Linked DNA regions of Homo sapiens: regions 1 and 3 are each linked to region 2. Evidence: promoter capture Hi-C in human tissues and cell types (Jung and others, 2019). All regions are on one chromosome and are shown on one strand. Each heading gives the region's core, a stretch centred on a gene start or on the middle of the fragment in contact. The rest is flanking DNA. Distances are from core to core; before and after follow the strand shown. Region 1 has its middle 230 kb from the start of KIF4B. Region 2 holds the start of HAVCR1 (hepatitis A virus cellular receptor 1). Region 3 has its middle 290 kb from the start of KIF4B.

The links. The method cuts DNA at HindIII sites, captures the fragments that hold promoters and counts their contacts. A contact is called where the count stands out against the background at its distance.
Region 1: a fragment that was not itself captured here is called in contact with the fragment with the promoter of HAVCR1 in region 2 in 1 of the 25 tissues and cell types used here (dorsolateral prefrontal cortex).
Region 3: a contact is called between a fragment that was not itself captured here and the fragment with the promoter of HAVCR1 in region 2, in 1 of the 25 tissues and cell types used here (dorsolateral prefrontal cortex).

The regions. Positions count from the first base shown.
Region 1 is chr5:155,240,353-155,243,222 of GRCh38, reverse strand. No RefSeq gene overlaps it. Among named protein-coding and RNA genes, the nearest start is that of KIF4B, 230 kb to the right of the region's middle. The HindIII fragment of the contact is 5,305 bases long and covers 1-2,870 here.
Region 2 is chr5:157,057,393-157,060,511 of GRCh38, reverse strand. It overlaps HAVCR1 (hepatitis A virus cellular receptor 1), which reads left to right and starts at 1,396. Exons shown (of 9, transcript NM_001173393.3): 1 at 1,396-1,591; 2 at 2,557-2,614. The coding sequence starts at 2,569. The HindIII fragment of the contact is 13,602 bases long and covers 1-3,119 here.
Region 3 is chr5:155,300,349-155,303,319 of GRCh38, reverse strand. No RefSeq gene overlaps it. Among named protein-coding and RNA genes, the nearest start is that of KIF4B, 290 kb to the right of the region's middle. The HindIII fragment of the contact is 6,985 bases long and covers 1-2,971 here.

The DNA.
Region 1 (2,870 bases), core at 59-2,558, 1.8 Mb after region 2:
AAGAAAGACTAAGCAAAAAGAAAAAATTTGGAGACATCACATTACCTGACTTCAAACTATACTACAAGCCTACAGTTATCAAAACAGCACCGTACTGGTATAAAAATAGGCATGTAAACCAATGGAACAGAATAGAGAACCCAGAAATAAAGCCAAATACTTACAGCCAACTGATCTTCGACAAAACAAACAAAAACATAAAGTGGGGAAAGGACACCCTATTCAACAAATGATGCTGGGATAACTGGCAAGCCACGTGTAGAAGAGTAAAACCGGATCCTCATCTCTCACCTTATATAAAAATCAACTCAAGATAGATCAAAGAGCCAAATCTAAGACCTGAAACCATAAAAATTCCAGAAGACAACATTGGTAAAACTCTTCTAGACATTGGCTTAGCCAAAGAGTTCATGACCAAGAACTCAAAAGCAAATGCAACTACAACAAAAAAATTGATGGGACCTAATTAAAGTAAAAAGCTTCTGCACAGCAAAAGAAATAATCAGCAGAGTAAACGGACAACCCACAGAGTGGGAGAAAATATTCACAAACTATGCATCCAACAAAGAACTAATATCAAAAACTCAAGTCAGCAAGAAAAAAAACAAAGAATCCCATCAGAAGGTGACCTAAGAACATGAATAGACAATTCCCAAAAGAAGACACACAAGTGGCCAGCAAACATATGAAAAAATGCTTAACATCATTAATTATCAGGTAAATGCAAATTAAGATCACAATGAGATACCACCTTACTCCTGCAAGAATGGCAATAATTTAAAAATCAAAAAATAATAGATGTTGATATGGATGTGGTGAGAAAAGAACACTTTTACACTGCTGGTGGGAATGTAAACTAGTACAACCACTATGGAAAACAGTATAGAGAGTTCTTAAAGAACTAAAAGTAGAACTACCATTTGACCCAGCAATCCCACTACTGGGTATCTACCCAGAAGAAAAGAAGTCATTATATGAAAAAGACACTTGCACACATGTTTATAGCAGCACAATTCACAATTGCAAAAATGTGGAACCAGCCTAAGTGCCCATCAGCCAATGAGTGGATAAAGAAAATATGGTAAATATACCTCATGGAATACTACTCAGCCATAAAAAGGAATGAAATAATGGCATTCTCGGCAACTTGGATGGAGTTGGAAACCATTATTCTAAATGAAGTAATTCAGGAATGGAAAACCAAATATTGTATGTTCTCACTTATAAGTGGGAGCTAAACTATGAGGACACAAAGGCATAAGAATGATATAATGGACTTTGGGGACATGGGGGGAAAGGAGTGCAAAGGATAAAAGACTAGCATTGGGTACAGGGTACACTGCTCAGGTGACAGGTGGACCAAAATCTCAGTAATTCCTACTAAAAAATCTTATCCAAATAACCAAAAACCACCCATTCTCCAAAAACTACTGAAATAAATAAAATAAAATAAATCCATGAAATAGTAAAAAAAAAAAAAAAATGCAGACATGTCAGCCCCCATCCCCAGAGCTTCTGATTCAGTAGGTCTGACGTGGGCCCAAGGTATCCACATTTTGGGCCATGCATTGGGACCTACTACCCTAAGATCTTGCTCTCAAGTTCAGTATCTAGTGAAGCATTATTTTCTGAATGAATCTTTTCAATAATATCTAAATAAAGATACAGTATCATAAAAGCCTCTTCTCCCAAACACTAAAAATTCTGTTAAAATCTCCAGATACAATTATGACAGCAAGGGCCCCTGATGTTTCCAGGTGGCCTGGGATGACTACTGAGGTTTGTACACAAAGAAACAGCCTCCCTCTGCTAGGGAAGGTCAAGTCCCCTCCCCCTGCACTGGCTGGCTAACAGCCAACAGGCCCAGTGACCCTACTCAATAATGGAAATCTCTCATTCATTTCCCCCTACCTTTTCCCTGAAGTTTTCTCCCTTTTTATTCTCCTCTTCATTTCCTGTCCCTCTTCTCTTTATCCAGTAATAATGAGAATAGCTACTGTTTATGGAGCATCTATTTCATGGGCACCACACTAAGAATGTGACAGACTCCATCTCATTTAGTCCCCATAGTTGCTAATGATTTTAACCTCATTTTCCAGATGAGAGAAAAATGTCACCTTGCTCAGGGTCACACAGCCAGTGCCTGGCAAGCTATGCCCTAACCCCAAAAGTCCTCATCCTCAAAGCCCATTCCTTTGTCCCCTGTACTCTTCTTTCTTTTCCAGCCCTTCTATGTCCTCTCTTCCACTTTATCTTGTTTTTGTGTCTCTTCTCACCCTTTCATCCCCTCTCTACCAGTCTTGGAACTGAATTCACTGCTGTAGGTAACAGTGCCAGCTCAGAGCTTAGACTTACAGGTGCTTTTAACACAATAACATGAGACAAAGAAGAAATCCCCATGTGGAAAACTTGAAGAGTTTTGGCTCGTAGGCATGATTCCAACTCTCCTATAGGGTCAAGTACTCAGTACTATTCCAAGTGATACTGGAGACCAAGAATGCTCCATAGAACTAAAAATTGACATGATACTCATTTGCTTAACCCACATGTTTTAAGCGCTATATATTTCACCCAGGTCCTAAGCAGGCTGTCTACCTGTCTTCCACACCAAGAGCCACTGAGGCCTGCACGTACTAGATAGATGCTCCTCAAATATCTATGGAGTATACTAATGCATGAATGCATGAGTGGAATGTGTGCCAGGTTCTATGCTACATACCATAGATGAAGCAAAAATATACATAAGTGTTCTCTTCCTGTAGCAGAAGAAGGAGGGTGTAGACAGGAGCAGGGACAGGGGTTGGGGAGAGAGACAGGAACAGGGACAGGAGCTGGATGGGGTTGGAGTAAAAAGGAGAAAGAGGAGGAAA
Region 2 (3,119 bases), core at 147-2,646:
CTTTAGATTGAAGGACCTGTGAAAAATGTCCAGGGAGGTCATATTTAAGCCGGGATAAAAATGAAAAGGAAAAAAGTGAAAATGGTGGGGCTGGGGAGCTAGATGGAGAACACAGCCACGGAAAAGGCCTTAGGGTTGAGGCAAGTTGGAAAGAAAGCTCTAGTAGCTGGGGCTGAGTCAGCAGGGGAGAGAGTGGTAGAAGAAATCTATGGGGTAGGTCAGGGCCAGACCACCAGGGCTTCAGTAATTTGAGTAAAGATTTAGGAATTATTATTATTATTATTATTATTATTTTTCTGAGAGAGTTATGAGAGGGTTATAAGTGGGGGAATGATGTAGTCTGATTATATATTTACCTTTACCTCACTTATCCTGATTTCATTAGTTGCTTACTTACCCATGTCCCTGCCCGATTGCACAAGTCTGGATTTTTGACGTCCCTAGTATATTGAGTCATGTCCCATCAGCTCAATATGTTAGTAATAACTGGTTGAATTGAATTAGCTTTTTTTTTTCAATCTTTTTTTCCTTAAGAAACAGGGTCTTGCTCTGTCACCCCGGCTGGTGTGCAGTGGCACAATCATAGCCTCCAACTGCTGGGCTCAAGCAACCCTCCTGCCTCAGCCTCCTGAGTAGCTGGGACTACGGTCAGGTACACAAGGCCTGACTATATTTTTTGTTCGTTTTTTTTGCAGAGAGGGAGTCTTGCTATGTTGCCCAGGTTGGTCTCAAACTCCTTACCTCAGGTGATCCACTTGCCTTGGCCTCCCAAAGTGTTGGGATTACAGGCGTGAGCCACTGTGCCTGGCAAGAAATGAATTTTTATTTTTATTTTTGAGATGGAGTTTTGTTCTTGTTGTCCAGGCTAGAGTGCAATGGCTTGATCTCGGCTCACTGCAACCTCCACCTTCCAGGTTCAAGCAATTCTTCTACCTCAGCCTCCTAAGTAGCTGGGATTACAGGCGCCCGCCACCACCCCCAGCTAATTTTTGTATTTTTAGTAGAGTCGGGGTTTCACCGTGTTAGCCAGGCTGGTCTTGAACTCCCGACCTCAGGTGACTGGCCTACTCGGCCTCCCAAAGTGCTGGGGTTACAGGCACGAGCCACCATGCCCGGTCAAGAAATGAATTTTTAAACGCTGCCATACAAAACACTATGCTGAGATCATCCACTTCCCCATGAACCCTGTCATGAGCTGCAAGATACAGACCACCACTGCCTCCTTGGAAGTTACTGAATTCTTAGACCAGAAGAGGAGTTAATGAAGTACTAGGCAAGCTTACTCATGTTTGTATGGTTTAATGATTAACAGCAGAAGTCAACAGCCCGATTTAACGCATGTGGGTGCTTGACACAGAGCCTGCTATATAGTATTCTCCAAAAACCTCAGCTAGTGCTATTACTGCATATGATGTAGGTTTAGTTTTCCAAGTTCTTCCGTGGCCCTTTTTGCTTATTATATCAATCCTTGGTGGGAGATAGAGGAAGCATTTTTAGTGCTATTTTACAACTGAGGAAATAGAGGTTTGAAGAGAACTCAGGAACTCTCAGGGTTACCCAGCATTGTGAGTGACAGAGCCTGGATCTGAACGTAAGTCTGCTCCAGACTTCTGTTTCCTGAAGCATTCTCTTGAAGTCCCTTGGTAAGGAGGTGTAGTCTGAAGCATGTTGTACAGGAGCATGAAAGGTTAGGCACAGTGATTCACATTCACTCTCAATTTCTCTTGCTAATGGCAAACTTGGCAATATGACTGTTAAGGCTAGGGATAAGTCGTTGTGGCCACTGAGTAGGAAAAGCTCCACGTCCACCAGAGGCCCAGTTTACTCTGAAAAGCAAGTGCATCTCTGCCACTGGAAGGCTGGCATTTGCTCTCGTGCTGCCATTGAGCCACGCTGGTTCTCTGCTTCCAGTTTCCTTTTCTTTTCTTTTTTTTTGTTTTGTTTTTTGAGACGGAGTCTTGCTCTGTCGCCCAGGCTGGAGTGCAGTGGCGCGATCTCGGCTCACCGCAAGCTCCGCCTCCCGCGGGTTCACGCCATTCTCCTGCCTCAGCCTCCCGAGTAGCTGGGACTACAGGCGCCAGTGACCACGCCCGGCTAATTTTTTGTATTTTTAGTAGAGACGGGGTTTCACCCTTTTAGCCAGGATGGTCTCGATCTCCTGACTTCGTGATCTGCCCGCCTTGGCCTCCCAAAGTGCTAGGATTACAGGTTTGAGCCACCGCGCCCGGCCCTGTTTCCTTTTTGTTTGTTCCCCTGATACCCTGTATCAGGACCAGGAGTCAGTTTGGCGGTTATGTGTGGGGAAGAAGCTGGGAAGTCAGGGGCTGTTTCTGTGGACAGCTTTCCCTGTCCTTTGGAAGGCACAGAGCTCTCAGCTGCAGGGAACTAACAGAGCTCTGAAGCCGTTATATGTGGTCTTCTCTCATTTCCAGCAGAGCAGGCTCATATGAATCAACCAACTGGGTGAAAAGATAAGTTGCAATCTGAGATTTAAGACTTGATCAGATACCATCTGGTGGAGGGTACCAACCAGCCTGTCTGCTCATTTTCCTTCAGGCTGATCCCATAATGCATCCTCAAGTGGTCATCTTAAGCCTCATCCTACATCTGGCAGGTAAGTGAGTAGGTGCCCTGGGCGGGAAGAAGGGAGTAGAGGGGGGTTAGAAGCCAGAGAATGGGGTAGGGGAAGGGGAGGGGATGGTGGTGGTGGATTAATGTAGATGTTCTTTGGGTACCGTTGTATGGCTATGAGTTAACTAGTGAGCAGGACCAGAATAAAGTTTTAGGCCAAAGAAATTGCTTAACTGCTGTGAATTACAACATTCATGGCTAAATGAACAAGGCAAGATGCAGCACAGTGTGTCACAGGCTGCCCTTTGTGTTTAAACAAAAAGGGTGTGGTTAGATGTATATGCATAGACACATGTATATAGGAAATAGTGACAGTGGGTAATGTGGGATGGGGGCAGAGGGTGGGAGGTGGAGGGAGAGTTAATCCTTATTGTATTTTTTTGTGCCTTCCGATTTTTTTCAGCCACATTCAATTCTCTTTCTTTCTTTCTTTCTTTCTTTCTTTCTTTCTTTCTTTCTTTCTTTCTTTCTTTCTTTCTTTCTTTCTT
Region 3 (2,971 bases), core at 128-2,627, 1.8 Mb after region 2:
CACTCTGTGGGCAACCCTGTCACACCAACTGCACTCCAGTTCAGGGGCTCAGTGGCTACAGGAAGCTGCCCAGGGTGGTTTCAAACCACCTTCCTTTTCTGCCTAAGCAAGTGCAAACATGAGCGGTTGGGCCTGATGCAATCAAAAATTTCATCTCCAGGAAGCTCTGTTCGAGGCACATGACCTTTGTGTATATTCTCATAATTCCAGAAGTAGTACATGGTGAGTTCTAAGAGGGTTGGCCAATGTGCAAAAGCATCAGGATGAAGTGCTTTGAATCTGAGGTGCCTTGATTGTACACCAGGAGTGACGCCAGGGAATTTGGGATCTACTCAGCCCTTACCAAGCTCATACCATAAAAATCATGCAGCAACAACCATGACCTCCACTTCCTGCAACCAGCTCTGTAGAAGGCTCAGTGCGTACAATATGCCATTTAATTTTTTATGTCTTTTTTTTTTTTTCTTTTTGAGACAGGGTCTTGGCTCTATTGCCCAGGCTGGAGTGCAGTGGTGCAATCATAGCTCACTGTGGCCTCAACCTCCTGGGATCATCAAGTAATCTTCCTGCCTCAGCTTCCCATGTAGCTGGGACCACAAGTGTGCACCACCAAGCTTGGCTAATTTTTTATTTATATTTATTTATTTATTTATTTATTTTGGTAGAGACAAGGTCTCACTTTATTGCCCAGGCTGGTCTCAAACTCTGGCCTCAAGTAATCCTCCCGCCTTGCCCTCCCAAAGTGCTGGGATTACAGGCATGAACCATCATGCCCGGCTGCCATTTAATCTTCATGGCAGAGCTGAGAGGAGGGTATCATGATTCCTGTGTCACAGATGAGGATTCAGAGGCCACAAGGCCTTCGTTTTGGAGGAAGACGAAAGTCAAAGAACACAGTGAGTAGCACAGCTAGGGTGTGAACCCCAGATTTTGTGGCTCCAAAGCCTGTGCTACAAATGTTGCCTTTGTGTCCTGGGTATGACGGAGGGGGATCCAAGACAACAGATGGCACAAAGTTTGTCTGCTGAGAATTTACAGCCTACATAGAGAAGAGAGAACACACACAGGGAAAAACAACTTAAGAGATCTTATAAAGCAACATACAAGGAGGCTGGAAGTCTCTTTTCCCACTATGGAAATGCTGCATTTGCTCACACCAAGTGACTTCTCTTTGGGGGTAAAAAAATTAGTATGAAACTTGCAGGCCTATTTAAAACAACATTAGTAAGAAAAGCAGCTAATATTTAGTGTGTTTTCCTATGTAACAGACACTGATAAGTGTTCCTAGGGAAAACTGAAGGCCCATTTAGAATAATAATACTTTCTTTCATTCATCAAGCACTTCATTATATACCAGGTATTGTTCTAAGGGCTTTACATACACTATCTTACATATAGTCTCAAAATGACTTTAAGAGATCATGGAAGTATTTGTTCCATTTTACAGATGAGAGTTAACACAGAAAGGTCAAGAATGGAATTTCAAACCAGAGTTTGTGACCCATTTCTGTGTTTTGAATTTAATTCAGGAGGTCATGACAAGCATTGTTTTAAATAAACAGATGAGAGAGGAAAGACTATAGGAGGTGGGAGGGGAATGAAATGAAACAGAACATATCAGAATGCATTACATGTGGTAAGGGTATTATTTCATCCATTTTATCTGTATGTGTATGTGAGTGTAAAATGTTATAAAATGAAATGATTACAGCAGGTCTCTGTGGAAGGTCTGAAAGCCACTTTGCCAGGAGTCACATAGCCAGTGATTTGCAGCCAGGGTTCAAATCTAGATAGACTATCTCCAGAGCCCACACTCTTCACCTCTAAACCAGTGCTGTACAGTAGATATATAAAGTAAATCTACACATGTAATTAAAAATGTTCTAGTAGCCACATCTAAGAAGTTTTAAAAGCCACATTAAAAATTAACTATTAAGGCCAGGGGCTGTGGCTCATGCCTATAGTCCCAGCACTTTGGGAGGCCGAGGGGGTGGATCATGAGGTCAAGAGATTGAGGCCATCCTGGTCAACATGGTGAAACCCCGTCTCTACTAAAAATACAAAAATTAGCCGGGGGTGCTGGCGCGCACCTATAGTCTCAGCTATTTGGGAGTCTGAGGCAGAAGAATCACTCGAATCCGTGAGGCGGAGCTTGCAGTGAGCCGAGATCATGCCACTGCACTCCAGCCTGGTGACAGAGCAAGACTCTATCTCAACAAATAAATAAATATTAACTATTAAAATTAATTTTAATTATAAGAACACACGGACACATAGAGGGGAACAACACACACTGGGGCCTATCAAAGTGTACAGGGTGGGAGGAGGGAGAGGATCAGGAAAAATAACTAATGGATATTAGGCTTAATACCTGGGTGATGAAATAATCCATACAACAAACCCTAATGACACACGCTTATCTATGTAACAAACCTTCACATCCTACACATGTGCCCCTCAACTTAAAAGTTAAAAAATATTAATTTTAATACATTTTATTTCACCCATCAAAAATATTATTTCAATATGTAAAAATTAATTCTGAAATTAAATCAATAAAAAATGAGGGTTCTTTTAAACTTTTTTTGTACTAAGTTTTGGAAACTTGGTGTGTATTTTACATTTTCCGCACATCTCAATTCAGACTAGCCCACCTAAAAAAAAATGCTCAGCAGTCACAGGTAGCTAGTGACCACCACATTGGACAGTGCAGCTCTAAACTATGCTATATCGAATATCCCCTTGGGCCCAGGTCCTGGTCCTCAGATTTCACCACAGGGGAAAATTCTCTGTCATGTGTATATATATATATATATATATATATATATATATATATATATATATATTTTTTTTTTTTTTTTTTTTTTTTTTTTTGAGATGGAGTTTCACTCTTGTTGCTCAGGCTAGAGTGAGGTAGTGCAATCCTGGCTCACTACAACTTCCGCCTCCCAGGTTCAAGTGATTCTCCTTC